2 separate regions of the Homo sapiens genome follow, and region 1 is linked to region 2. Evidence: promoter capture Hi-C in human tissues and cell types (Jung and others, 2019). All regions are on one chromosome and are shown on one strand. The core of a region is centred on a gene start or on the middle of the fragment in contact, and the rest is flanking DNA. Distances in the headings are between cores, read along the strand shown. Region 1 overlaps SMG6 (SMG6 nonsense mediated mRNA decay factor). Region 2 holds the start of OVCA2 (OVCA2 serine hydrolase domain containing).

Region 1 (7,011 bases), core at 2,343-4,842, 84 kb before region 2:
TATTTTTAATAAAGATGGGGTTTCGCCATCCTGGGCTCAAGCGATCCGCCTGCCTTGGCTTCCCAAAATGCTGGGATTACAGGTGTGAGCCACCCCACCCAGCCCAGTAATAAAATTCTAATTTAAAACTATCATTTTCTTCCTAAAATAGTCCAGTGTACTCTCCCAAACTTCAAAATGAGCATATTCTTGACTCATAGTTGTTTCATGGGAGATAACATATTTCTTTCATTTTCTTAAAGGTTTTTACTCTGCTGCTTGCATGCCATTTTCTTTCTTTCTTTCTTTTTCTGTCTTTTTGTCTTCCTCTTTCTTTCTTTCTTTCTCTCTCTCTCTTTTTTTTTTTTTTTTTGAGTCTTGCTCTGTCACCCAGGCTAGAGTGCCGTGGCGCGATCTTGGCTCAGTGCAACCTCCACCTCCTGGGTTCAAGTGATTCTCCTGTCTCAGTCTCCCAAGTAGCTGGGCCTACAGGTGCACGCCACCACGCCCAGCTAATTTTTGTATTTTTAGTAGAGACGGGGTTTCACCACGTTGGTCAAGCTAGTCTCGAACTCCTGACCTCAAGTTTGCAATAGTGGGTATACAATGCTTGGAGAGGCTGTTAGAATAACAAATTGGCAGGATAGTGGCATACAGAATACAGCATAAGGCAGTTGGATTGGCGTATAGGTTAATACCGTTGACATCAGAATCCGGTGGTTTTTAATCTAACTCTAGAGCCATCCTGTCCAGTACCACTTTCTGCAGTGGGGAAAGTGTTCTACTTGACACCGTCTAGTATGGTAACTACTGGCCGCATGTAGCTGTTGAACACATGAAATGCGGCTGGTCTACCTGAAGAAATGATTTTTTTTAATTGTGGTAAAATATACACAACATAAAATTTACCATTTCGTGCCCTCCCTGCACTTGACCGCCGCTGCTCCGTGCCGGCAGCCTGGGGACTGGGAGCACTCGTGCCTTGGGTATGCCGCCCCACTGGCTGGACAAAGCGGCGCGTGGATGTGCCTGTGGGGCCTTGCCCTGGGCATCGCTGCTGCTGCCAGCGCCCTTCACCCATGCTTCAGCATGGTGCCTATACTCACTTCCTGCAGGAGTCTGCTGGATACCTGCAGCTGGAGCACAGGAGAGATTTCAGCTCTTCTGGGAGTAGGAAGCTCTCCTTTGACACTCGTTCCTTAGTGTGCTTTCTGGAAGACCATGGGTTTGCTACTCAGCAAGCAGAAATCATTGTGTCTGCATTGGTCCAGGTACTGGAGGCCAACGTGGACATCGTCTACAAAGATATGGCCACCAAGATGAAGCAGGAGATCGCTCTTCAGCAAATAATGTCTCAGACTGTGAATGTGAAAAACGATATGATTACTTTGGAGAAGAGTGAATTTTCAGCCCTCAGAGCAGAACGTGAGAAAATAAAACTCAAACTACATCAGTTAAAACAAGTAATGGATGAAGTGATTAAAGTCCGAACAGATACTAAATTAGACTTCAACCTAGAAAAGAGCAGAGTAAAAGAATTGTATTCGTTGAATGAAAGGAAGCTGCTGGAATTGAGAACAGAAATAGTGACATTGCATGCCCAGCAAGATTGGGCCGTCACCCAGAGAGATAGGAAGATAGAAACTGAGGATGCTGGCCCCAAAACCATGCTTGAGTCATACAAGCTTGATAATATTAAATATTTAGCAGGGTCTATATTTACGTGCCTAACAGTAGCTCTGGGATTTTATCACCTGTGGATCTAATAAAGTGTCTATTTAAAGAGGGGGGGAAAAGGATTTACCATTTCAACCATTTCTTAAGTGTACAACTCAGTGGCATTAAGTACATTCACAGTGTTGTGCGACCATCACTACTATCCATTTCCAGAACTCTTCATCATTCCAAACGCCGTAACCATTACACAGTAACTCCTCATTCCCCCTTCCCCTGGCAACTTCTACTTTCTAGCTCTATGCATTTCCCTATTGTAAGTATCTCATATAAGTAGAATCATGCAATATTTGTCTTTTTTTTTTTTTTTTTTTTTTTGAGACAAGGTCTCTCTGTGTTGCCCAGGCTGGAGTGCAGTGTCACCATTACGGCTCACTGCAGCCTCGAACTCCCAAGCCCAAGGGATCCTCCCACCTCAGCTTCCTAAGTAGCTGGGACCACAAGCACGTACCACCACACCCAGCTAATTATATGCACGCGTGTGTTCACGCGTATATGTGTGTGTGTGCATGTGTGCGCATGTGTGCATGTATGTTTGTGTCTGTGTGCATGTGTGTGCGTGTGTGTGTAGAAATAGGGTCTCCCCATGTTGTCAAAGCTTCTCTTGAACTCCTCAGCCTCGAGTGATCGTCCCACCATAGCCTCCCAAAGTGCTGAGATTACTGGTGTGAGTTTCCACCTTTGATGCACAAAAGTGTTTAATTTTGATAAAGTCCAGTTTGCTTTTTTTTTTTTTTTTTTGAAACTGAGCCTCACTCTGTTGCCCAGGCCAGAGTGCAGTGGCTTGATCTTGGCTCACTGCAACCTCCACCTCCCGGGTTCAAGTGATTCTTGTGCCCCGCCTTTCAAATAGCTGAGATTACAGGGGCCCACCTGGCTAGTTTTTGTATTTTTAGTAGAGATGGGGTTTCACCATGTTGGCCAGTCTGGTCTCAACTCCTGACCTCAAGTGATCTGCCTGCCTCAGCCTCCCAAAGTGCTGGGATTACAAATATGAGGCACTGTGTCTGGTCTGCTTATTTTTTTCTTTTGTTTCCTATGCTTTTGATGTCATATCCAAGAAATCATTGCCAAATCCAGTGTCATAAAGATTTTCCCTTATGCTTTCTTCTAAGAGTTTTCTAGTTTTAGCTCTTTTTAGGTCTTTGATCCATTTTGAATTTGTTTTTGTATATGGTCTTAGGTAAGGGTTCAGCTTCATTCTTTTGCATGTGAATATCCAGGTTTTTTTAAGCTCTTTTTATTGAAAAGACTATTCCTTCCATAAGATTGGAATTGGTCTTGACACCCTTGTCAAAAGTCAGTTGACCCTGTATTTGTGAGAGTTTACTTCTAGGTTTTCTGTTCTATTCTATGCCAGTACCACACCGTTTTGATTAGTATAGTTTTGCAGTAAGTTTTGAAATCCAGAAGCATGAGCCCTTTAACTTTTGTTCTTTTTCACGATTAATTTGGCTGTATGGGGTCCCTTAAGATTCCATATGATTTTTTTTTTTTTTTTTTTGAGATGGGTTCTCACTCCATCTCCCAGGCTGGAGTGCAGTGGCACAATGTCAGCTCACTGCAACCTCTGCCTCTCAGGTTCAAGCGATTCTTGTGCCTCAGCCTCCCAAGTACCTGGGATTACAGGCATGCGCCACCACACCCAGCTGATTTTTGTATTTTTAGTATAGACGGTGTTTTGCCATGTTGACCAGGCTGGTCTCCAACTCCTGACCTCAAGCAATCTGCCCGCTTTGGCCTCCCAGAGTGCTGGGACTACTGGCATGAGCCATTGCATCCAGCTAGATTCCATATGAATTTTAAGATGTTTTTATGGATCTGTGGAAAATGCCATTGGGATTTTGATAGGAACTGCATTGAATCTGTAGATTGCTTTGGTTACTGTAGTCAGCTTAACAATATTAAGTCTTCCAATTCATGAACATAGAATGTTTTTCCATTTATTGGAACTCCGTTTTTAATTATATTCAATTTTAGGAAATTTAAATTTGTTTGGCCATATTGTAGCTAATCATCATCCTATTGGCCAGCAAGCCCAAGAGAATTATCCTCAGATTTTCTTTTCTTCCTAAATCGTAGGATCGTAGTGACGTCTTCAGAGGCCTTGTAGTATCTGAATCATCATTGGTCTCAGGATGTCTGGATTGTATGGAATGCATGGTTAGAAGGGTGAATAAATAGGGGGTTTCGGTCCCTCCAGGTTATCTCTGTCTCGGAGATATGAGAGGGCTACAAGTCTTGCCACATCAGACCCTGTCTCCTTCTCTATTTTCCCTTTGGAAATGTCTGTTTTTCTCCAGAGCCAAAGAGAACCTCTTGTTTTCCAAAAAATTAGCAAAAAGTAGACTCTGCTCTGGCAGGAATGGAACTCCTTCTGCCTCTTCCTATTTCCATAGAAGAAGAGACCATAGTGCCCCAAATGAGGTGTTTTTAAAAGAAATTCCTTCTCCAAATGGAGATGCTGATTATTTTATAGCAGCGTATGTACCTTGTTCATCATTCTGATGGGGTTCTCATGGGAACAGCAACAAAAAATGCCTTTCGGTGCCAATCATGGTTGTGCTCCCAATTGCATTTTCCTTGAGGGTCAGCAGTCTAAGAGATGCCTGCACGTTAGAAACAAAAAATAAAGAATAAACGCTGTAAATAATTAATTAAACCAGGAAACCCCCTTTCAGTGTCCATTCGTTTTTCTGCCATGTAAGAAGTAATGGTAGGATGCGGAAGACCTGTGTCCTTAGTACTGTTCCGTCTCCCTGCTGCCCCTTCCCCAGCTTCTCTCTAATGACTCCCCGGGGAGATCACAGGTCTCAGAGTAAACAGGAAACCTGACTAAGTAAAATAGGGAGTCTTAGAGCCTAGAGGGTAAGAGACACAGCTCTCCAGGAAGAAGATGCCTTTGGCCTTGGACAGCCAGGAGCAGTGGGTTTGTGGGGTTTTATATAAACACTCTGTTACGACTCTCTGCGGAGGAACCCTCCAATCCACTTTAGGCCAGAAATGGAACTTTGTTCCCTGGCCTGCCCATGACTACTCTACATCAGTCTCTCCTGAAAAGAGGCTAGAATATTACTTGTGTATTCAGAATTGGACTAACCCAGTAGTTAGCCAGTTCGCTAAAACTGATTTCTCTACCTTACTGCCCTGTGGCCTGTACCCCACCCTTATTGTCACCCCTTTCTTTGTACAGAGATAACTTCTTTACTGTAGCATTTGGGATTTCCCACACTACAGTTGATCTGTCACCGCACTACCAAAATGCCTCTGCCAACCACTTGGGTGTCCTGGTGTCAGAAGTTAGAAGTGCCCCAACTGTCCCACCCAGCCTGCTCAGCTCTCCTCTCTCTCTCCTGGGTTGTTGTTCTGGAATGATATTCCTCTTGGATTCAGTGTGTGCAGTCTGATTTGGGTGGAGCCTTGAGCTGTACACAGGAGTGCTGGTAATGTCTGGCCTTCAGTGCTGCCAAAGGCAAGAAGCTGGCCTCTCAGTGTAAAGCACATAGTTGGATTGCTGGGGCAGTGTTAAATGGAGGGTGGGGTGAGCAGATAGCACTCTCTTCCTGCTCTGTTTTCAGGAAGTGATTATAAAAGCAGCTCTAAGTTTGAATGAAATCAAAAGAATGAATTGTCACCTTCCCCCAACAAAAACCAGATGAGCACAAACATATACACAAACACACTCCTCCTCTGCACTCCATCCAAGATCCACACCCTGGCTCTGCCGGGCTTCACTTCGGTGCTATTTCAGAGCAAAGAGCCTTTGTTGTGCCATCTCCATTCTCTTCCCTGGGAGAGAGCTTAGTAGTCTTATGAATGAGAGCTCGACTTCCCTTTTGGCATACTGTGGGTTTCACTTCCCTGTCCTCTCTCCTTCCAAGAAGAGTGTGGGCAGAAGTGTATAGGTGGGAGGAATAACCATTGCCAAGATTTAATTCATCAGTTAGGGATTGGGGTTTCAGAACTGGTAATAAAATTGTTTGCAGTTAATTGTCAATGAAAGGAGTTTCTGTGCCGTTAACACACTTCCATTCCTTCCTTCCAGCTGCCTCTTTCCGTCGTACTGCCTTTTTCCTGGTACCTCCATGGGGTTTAAGCCATATGGCTCTTAGGAATATCGTTTGGAGTCTCCAGAAGTGGAAGATTTGGCTGTGCAGCACACAGCACCCCTGGGTCTACTCCTCCCCTCCCCTCTCAGCAGCTGTTTGCCACTGACCGAGGTGGCGACCAAGCCTATGTGTGTGGCCAGAGTCAGTGACAAGCCTCCCACCCAGGCCTGGGGAAGCCCTTAGCCAGCGCGGTTCCTGAGGCAGCCGCCAACACGCCAGGGTTTCCTCATACCTTCAGGGCTGCGGTGGAGCAGCCAGCGTTATGCGGCAGCATTGTCTAGCGTTGCTTCACTTGACTTCTCTGTCCCCACCCTCTGTGTTTAAGGGAATCTGGCCATCATCCAGCAGGGAAGAAGCTGGCATTTACAGAGAGTGGCTTTCTGCCACCCCTCATGTGGTAGGAGCCAGGACCACCTCCATCTCTGCTTCCTACCCATGTGGCAAAGAGGAAGGGGCCCCTCTGTGCTCAGTCTCCTGTTGTGGAGTTTCGAGTTGCCTAAGATGAGAATAAGGCTGTCTGCCAGGTTATCTGCCCAGATAAACATTTATTGTTTACAGGGACATGTTTCAGCTGCTCTGGCACCTCCCACTGGTGAGATCCTCTAGTATCTTGAGGTTTTAAGCCAGTATATGGGGCCGACGTCCAGACACAGAACTACTGGAGCTGGAGAGGCTAAGTGGCTCGCGGCTTCTAACTTAGCTTCGCCATTGCCCCCCGCCCCGCTTCCCACTGCCAGAGCTAGATTTACATCTCTTGTTCTTAGTTCTGCCTCCTGGATATTGAAGCTGCATCTACATTTTAAACCTTTCTAGCCTTTAGAATTTGGGGATTTATATGCGATCCAGTGTTAGGACACAGCAAGCTGAAGACTTCTTTTACATGGCAAAACCAGCCCTCTGACACTGTGTTTTCCTTAATAGCTAATGAGACAGCTGTTTAGTGACGGCAACAGGGATTGATGCAGATTTTCTTTTTTTAATCTGACTAGGTCCACTGCTTCCAGATATTGTCTTTTTATTTTTTTAGTGATGTGATTGATTTTCCAACATTTTATTATACAGCAAAGTTGAACATTCTCCAGTGAGCTCACTTATACCCAGTACCTACATGCTGTGATTCTCATTTTACTGTATTTGTCTTATCATGTTATCTGTTTATTTCTCTCTCTCCCTCTCTTCCCCCATCTAT
Region 2 (6,568 bases), core at 4,069-6,568:
TTTAAGCTATATATATTTATTGCCTAATATATATAAAATATATATGTGTTATATATATATAATTTTATTTGTTTTTTTCTTCTGAGATGGAGTCTTGCTCTGTTGCCCAGGCTGAAGTGCAGTAGCATGATCTCGGCTCACTGCAACGTCCGCCTCCCAGGTTCAAGCAATTCTCCTGTCTCAGCCTCCTGAGTAGTTAGGACTACAGGTGTGTGCCACCACCCCCAGCCAATTTTTGTAGTTTGTTTTTTTTTCTTTTTTTTTGGAGACAGGGTCTAGCTCTGTCTCCCAGGCTGGAATACAGTGGCACAATCACAGCTTACTGCAGCCTCAAAACTCCTGGGCTCAAGTGATCCTCCCACCTGAGCCTCCCGAGTAGCTGGGACCACAGGTGCATGCCACCACACCCAGCTAACTTTTAAATTATTTGTAGAGAGGGGGTCTCACTATGTTTCCCAGGCTGGTTCTGAACTCCTGGGCTCAATTGATCCTCATGCCTTAGCCTCCCAAAGTGCTGGGATTATAGGCATGAGCAATCGCACCTGGCCCTAAATTAGGCCGCATTAAAGCTCTTGCTTATTACAATGTCTGGTATACAGTTATTACTCAATAAATGCTCTTCTGGCCGGGTGCAGTGGCTCACACCTGTAATCCCAACACTTTGGGAGGCTGAGGTGGGCGAATCACTTGAGATCAGGAGTTCAAGACCAGCCTGGCCAACATGGCGAAACCCTGTCTCTACTGAAAATGCAAAAATTAGCTGGGAGTGGTGATGCACACCTGTAATCCCAGCTACTCTGGAGGCTGAGGCAGGCGGATCGCTCGAACTCAGGAGGCGGAGGTCGCAGAGAGCGGAGACTGTACCACTGCACTCCAGCCTGGGTGACAGAGCGAGACTCCGTCTCAAATAAGTAAGTAAATAAATAAATGCTATTCCTATTTCTATCCTTCAGACCTAATTTTCCTTTGCTATAAATTGAAAATGTTTAAGCAGTGATTGTTCTGGGGAGCTTGCTCCCCTCCCTGGTGGGTTGCAAGAGAGTCACACTAGGGGTTTTTCAGATAACACACCCTCACCCGAGGCTTTCATTCAACCCCTAAGGCAGTGGCTTTTCAAATCCCTGCTTGGGAATGATGGGGGCAATTTGCCAAAATGCAGATTCCTGGGTCCCAGTGATTCTGACTCAGTACATCTGGAGTTGGCCCCAGAATTCAAGTTGGTTTTTTGAGATGGAGTCTCACTCTGTCACCCAGGCTGGAGTGCAGTGGCACAATTTCGGCTCACTGCAACCTCCGCCTCCTGGGTTCAAGCAATTCTCCTGCCTCAGCCTACCAAGTAGCTAGGATTACAGGTGCATGCCACCACGCCCAGCTACTTTTTTTTTTTTTTTTTTTTGAGACAGTTTCGCTCTCGTTGCCCAGGTTGGAGTGCAATAGCGTGATCTCGGCTTACCGCAACCTTTGCCTCCCAGGTTCAAGCAATTCTCCTGCTTCAGCCTTCCAAGTAGCTGGGATTACAGGCATGCGCCACCATGGTTGGCTAATTTTGTATTTTTAGTAGAGACAGAGTTTCTCTCTGTTGGTCTGGCTGGCCTCAAATTCCCAACCTCAGGTGATCTGCCCGCCTCCGCCTCCCAAAGTGCTGGGATTACAGGCATGAGCCACCACGCAGGGCCAGAATTCAGGTTTTAACCAATGTTCTGGATGTAAATGGTACACAGAATCTGCGTATTGGGGGTGGGGAGGGGCACAACCCCCTAAGAGTCTCTCTTGCTCCTGGACGGCATGATGGGAAGTGACCTGTTCCACTTGTCGAGAACTAGTGGACCCCATGTTTCCCTCTAGCTTGGACACTATGGTTCTCAGGAGGAATCCTCACCCCCGGCCAGGAGCCCTTCTCCTCCACCTACTACTGCTGGGCTCTACCTCCCCCACTTTTAATTTTAAGCCTTGGCTCAAAATTCACTCCCCAATATTTCTCCCCTTCTCTCTACTTTCGTCCTCAATAATCCCAAGCAGCTGGGGTGTACAAGTCGTTTTCACCTCTTGGGACCGTGCTAAAGGGGGCAGCCTATGATTACCATGAGGGTATGGGAGCCCTGAACTGCAAATCTATCATTTCCAGAGAAGCCAGAAATCTGAAATTTTCTGTGCAATTTCTGAAACTTTAAATCAGAATTTTTTCTAAAATTCAATGGGTCAGATACCACAGTCTGTGTAATCAATCCATTCCAAAGTCTCCTCCTTTTGCTAAAGGAGAAGATTCCTTAAAACAAGGCAGAAGCCAACTGAAGCAAGGGAGAACCACCTCCCACCCCTCCCCACACACACTTTCCACACCCAGTAACTAGGTCTCTGGGCGGATAATTCTGTTTTGTTTTGTTTTTTTTAATTTTGGACAGCTAATCTCTGTAGTGAGGAACCCAGAACTTTCGGTAATGTAAGGGATATTAGTCTGGTTGTCAGAAAAATGGGCTGGAGTATTTGTGCTGTGTCCCTGACCATAATTCCTGCTCAGTTGCTTAGCTCCCTGGCAACTATGTCTGAGGGCTAAACAGGAGTTGGTGTGATCTTCCAGAAAAAGAACAGGCTTCTTGTCTTGCAGAGGCAGGAAGTCAGAAAACAAGAGTGTGTGTGTGTGTGTCAGGGGGTGGGGGGTGTCAGGTGGCACTGGAAATGGGAGGGAACTCATTAAGAGTGGGCAATTGGCCAGGTGAGGTGGCTCACGCCTGTTAATTCCAGCACTTTGGGAGGCCAGGACAGGTGGATTGCTTGAGCTCGCAAGTTGGAGACCATCCGCACAACATGGTGAGACCCCTTCTCTACAACAAATACAAAAATTAGCCAGGCATGGTGATTTGCGCCTGCAGCCCCAGCTGCTTGGGAGGCTGAGGTGGGAGGATGGATGGCTTGAGCCCGGGAGGTGGAGGCTGTCAAGATTGTGCCACTGCACTCCAGCCTGGGTGATAGAGTCAGACCTTGTCTTTAAAAGTAAAGAAAACAAAAAAAGAGTGGGCAATCCTAGGTAGGTGCAGTGGCTCAGGCCTATAATCCTAGCACTTTGGGAGGCTGAGGCAGGTGGATTGTTTGAGCTAAAGAGTTTTGAGACCAGCCTGGGCAACGTGGCAAAACCCTATCTCTACAAAAAAATATAGAAATTAGCCAGGCGTGGTGGCGCATGCCTGTAACGCCACCTACTCAGGAGGCTGAGACAGAACTGCTTGAACCCAGGAGGCTGAGGTTGCAGTGAGCCAGGATCTTGGCCACTGCTCTCCAGCCTGGGTGACAGAGTGAGCCTGTCTCAAAAAAAAAAAAAAAAAGAGTGAGCAATCCTCAAAGTATCCAAGAACAACTACACGCCCCAAGGGGAAAACCAGCTGGATTGCTTAGGCCTTGGCTGTAGTCACTAAAGAATGGCATCAATCTCAGAAACCCTCAAGATGGGGTCAATTTAGGAAGAAGCTGTTTATTCTGTACTGTCTTTGGCCTCCACCTAAGGTCTGGCATCGACCCACCCTTCAGGCTCATAGTTCAGCGAGGTTAGAGCACTTAGGGAGAAGCAGGTAACACATCCAGGGTTTGAGAGAAGACCAGCACACAACTCTCAGTGATCTGGATAGAGGAAGACTAAATTACTGTGGTTCAGGCAGCCTTGCCAGGTGATGTCTTCCCAAAACTTCTCAGATGTATATTCCTCCCTGATTGTGCCACCTAGGCCTCCTTCCCTTCAGTTTGGGACTTAAAACTTCCACCAATAACGTGAGTATGTGCACCCATGCAGCAGCCTGTCCGAGGACTCACAACTGGAGACACCTCCCTGCTTGGCGCTGCCCAGAAAACTATGTAGATGGCCAAGAAACCGACTTCCATTATAAAATGTTTTTCTGTGTGTACCAGGAAAAAGATGCTCAAAATCCAAATCACCACTTTATTATGTGGCAGTCACCATGGTGCCAGCCTCTGCCTTCCCCATGTCACCCTCCTAATCCAGGGCTCTCCAACCATATTCATGTTTGCGTTTTCACAAGTCAATGTCCATTAAGGCCTTGTGCTCCCCTTTTCTTCAGTACAGGGCAGGGCCCTTATAATTTGGGTCTCAAGAATTGATAGTTGTCTCTTAACTGGTTCTGGTGAGGCGCACTCACAGCAGTGAGTGGAGGGTCCTGGGAGGGCATGGATGACGGAGGCTGCCCCTAGAGGAGCTGGATGTAGGAGCAGAGACATTTCTTGATCTTTCACTCTGCAAACTGGTCCAAGAACTTGAGGTAGGCCTGACGCTGGGGTGCAGCTGCTGGAATGAAGTGGCCACCAGAGTGGGTGAGGGTGATGGCTCCGGGAAATTGGCTGGCCAGTTGCACACTCTCCTGAGAGGGGATGACTTTGTCAGTGTCCCCAAAAACATGGAGCGAAGGCAATGACAAGGGCCTTTGCAGGATGGATTCCTTGAACCCAATGCCCCGGGGACAGAAACCAGACACCAAGAGGATAAACCGTGGCAAGGGGAAGCGGGGATCGCCTGCCTGGCCCAGGGCACACACAAGGGCTGCTAGCGCAGCCCCTTGGCTGAAACCAAGAAGGCCGTCAAAAGGCCCCAGCCTGTTCAGTGCCTGTGCCACCATCCCCAGTGATTCCTCCAGGCCCCTGCAGACGGCGGGCTCTTCCAATGCGGAGAAAACGTCGGCCTCCTGCTCTGAAAACCACCAGCCTCGAGGCTGCTCCTCCGGAGGGCAGGACCCTACAGCGATATGAGGAAAAAGGATGGGATTAGGGCATGGGAGGCTCCAGGAAGGAAAGAAATGAGAAAGGGCAGGAGGGTTCGAGATGACAGAGAGAAAAAGGGAATCGAGGCAAAAGTCTGGGGGAAATGAGAGGGGGGAAATGAGTGGATTGGCCTGAACAGGAGACAGCGGAGGAAGACGGTGAAGGCGGAAGCCTGGGAGGACAGGCTGCAGTTTGAGCAAAGAGGGTATGGGTCGCGAGAAATGAAGGGTGTGGACTGGGTGGGAGGAATGCGGGTGGACGCAGGGTGGGGGATGCTGAAGGGTGTCGAGGGGGACGAAACAAGATGGAGGAAACTGAGTGCGTTTCCGGAGCGGGGCTTGTCTCACCGAAGTCTGATCTGGCGCCCTCGGGGCCCGGGGGGTCGGGGACCGGGTGCGGGCCGCTGAGGCACACGAGCTCGGCGCGACCCCGCAGCGCCTTCCTCAGCGCCCCGGTCTTCTCACGGAAGCCCCGCTCGCTCTGCCGGAAGCCCGCCAGGCACAGGACCCGCAGGGGTCGCTGCGCGGCCATTATGCCCGGCAAGGAGCGACGGAAGCACCGGAAGCGGTCTTTCCCCGAGCGGAAGCACAATGCACGGGGCGGAACCGAACGTCAGCACCGCCCCGAGGGCGGGCCTCGGAGCGCCAAGGCGTTCCCATGACAACGGCAAAAGGCGGGGCGCACCCAGAGCGGGGGCTGATACCTGAGGCCCGGGAGCGCGTCAAGGAGCCAGCGGCGCCACCTTCTCGTCCCTGCAGCTGCAGTCCTCGCAAGCCACGGCCGAAGGGGGACGCGCGGACCCCTCCTGCACCTGAGGTCGCAGACTTTGGTTAGGGTCTCGCTCCTGCGACCCTGCGTTTCCCTCCGCTCCGCTCCTGTGCGTTTCCCGTCGCGGTCGCAGGGCGGCGGCCAGTGCCCAGGCGCGGTCTCTCCTCCCTCCTGGAAGCCCCCGCCTACCTTCCCCCGCGCGGGCCGGCCCGGGGCGTGGGGACGGCGGTCCTGGCCGTGGTTCACCGTCCAGGGCCCCAAGGAGCTGCCAGCGTAGAAGTCCATCGGGTAGGGCTGCTGCCAGGAAATGTCCCTCAGAGCCACGGCCGCCTAGGGGAGGGGAGGGAGGGACAATAACATCTGCCAGTGTTTTTCTGCCCCTGGATTACTGAATTCAGTCCTCACGACGGCCTGTGAAGGGCACACTGTCCCCTGCCACAGAAGGGAACTGTGTGGTTCAGGGCCTTGCCTAAGGCTACACAGCTAGGAAGTGACTCCGCTGGAGAAATCGAGACAGACTCCGGAATCTACGAACATAACGAAGTGCTGCCCACCCACCCCACTCCACTCCAGACCTCACCTTTGAGAACCACGTCCAAAGCCCACTCTCTCCCAGAGCTTGGTGTTACCTCATAGGGTGTCAGCAGCGGCTTGGGGAAGGCTGTGCCCCAGTCAATGGAGAGACGTGGACATGCCACCTGCACCCACCTGGGAAGGGAAGCCAGGTCAGACCCTAGGAAGGGCCTCCTCGTCGCCCAGGCAGCATGCTGAAGAACATGACAGTGCCCCCAGCACACCCATTCATTAACAGGCTTTATGAATCCTAAAGTAAAGACAGTGACCCACTGCTGTTTGGAATACTGTATTGTTGCGTGTTTTCTCCTGTTTCCTCTGCCGACAATGAGCTTTCCAGGGCAGCTCACTGGTGATAGTATCCCCAGAACCACATTTAGTACCTGGTACAGGGCAGGTGTCAGCCACCGCTCAAACTCATCTCACAAGGACAAATGTGATGTTGCCATTGCCTCTGAGCCCCAAA

What was found. Contacts are between HindIII fragments. The study calls those that stand out against the background at their distance.
Region 1: a fragment that was not itself captured here is called in contact with the fragment with the promoter of OVCA2 in region 2 in 2 of the 25 tissues and cell types used here (aorta and thymus).

What each region holds. Positions count from the first base shown.
Region 1 is chr17:2,122,159-2,129,169 of GRCh38, reverse strand. All of the region lies in intron 13 of SMG6 (SMG6 nonsense mediated mRNA decay factor), which reads left to right. It also overlaps the pseudogene MCUR1P1. Among named protein-coding and RNA genes, the nearest start is that of SMG6-AS1, 36 kb to the right of the region's middle. RefSeq lists enhancers at 5,217-5,266, 6,472-6,531. The HindIII fragment of the contact is 3,207 bases long and covers 1,989-5,195 here.
Region 2 is chr17:2,040,772-2,047,339 of GRCh38, reverse strand. It overlaps OVCA2 (OVCA2 serine hydrolase domain containing), which reads right to left and starts at 5,318. Exons shown (of 2, transcript NM_080822.3): 1 at 5,109-5,318; 2 at 3,915-4,735. The coding sequence starts at 5,292. The coding sequence ends at 4,236. It overlaps DPH1 (diphthamide biosynthesis 1), which reads right to left. Exons shown (of 13, transcript NM_001383.6): 10 at 6,159-6,237; 11 at 5,719-5,859; 12 at 5,465-5,572; 13 at 3,442-4,735. The coding sequence ends at 5,483. RefSeq lists silencers at 5,016-5,215, 5,726-5,815 and an enhancer at 5,406-5,465. The HindIII fragment of the contact is 24,727 bases long and covers 1-6,568 here.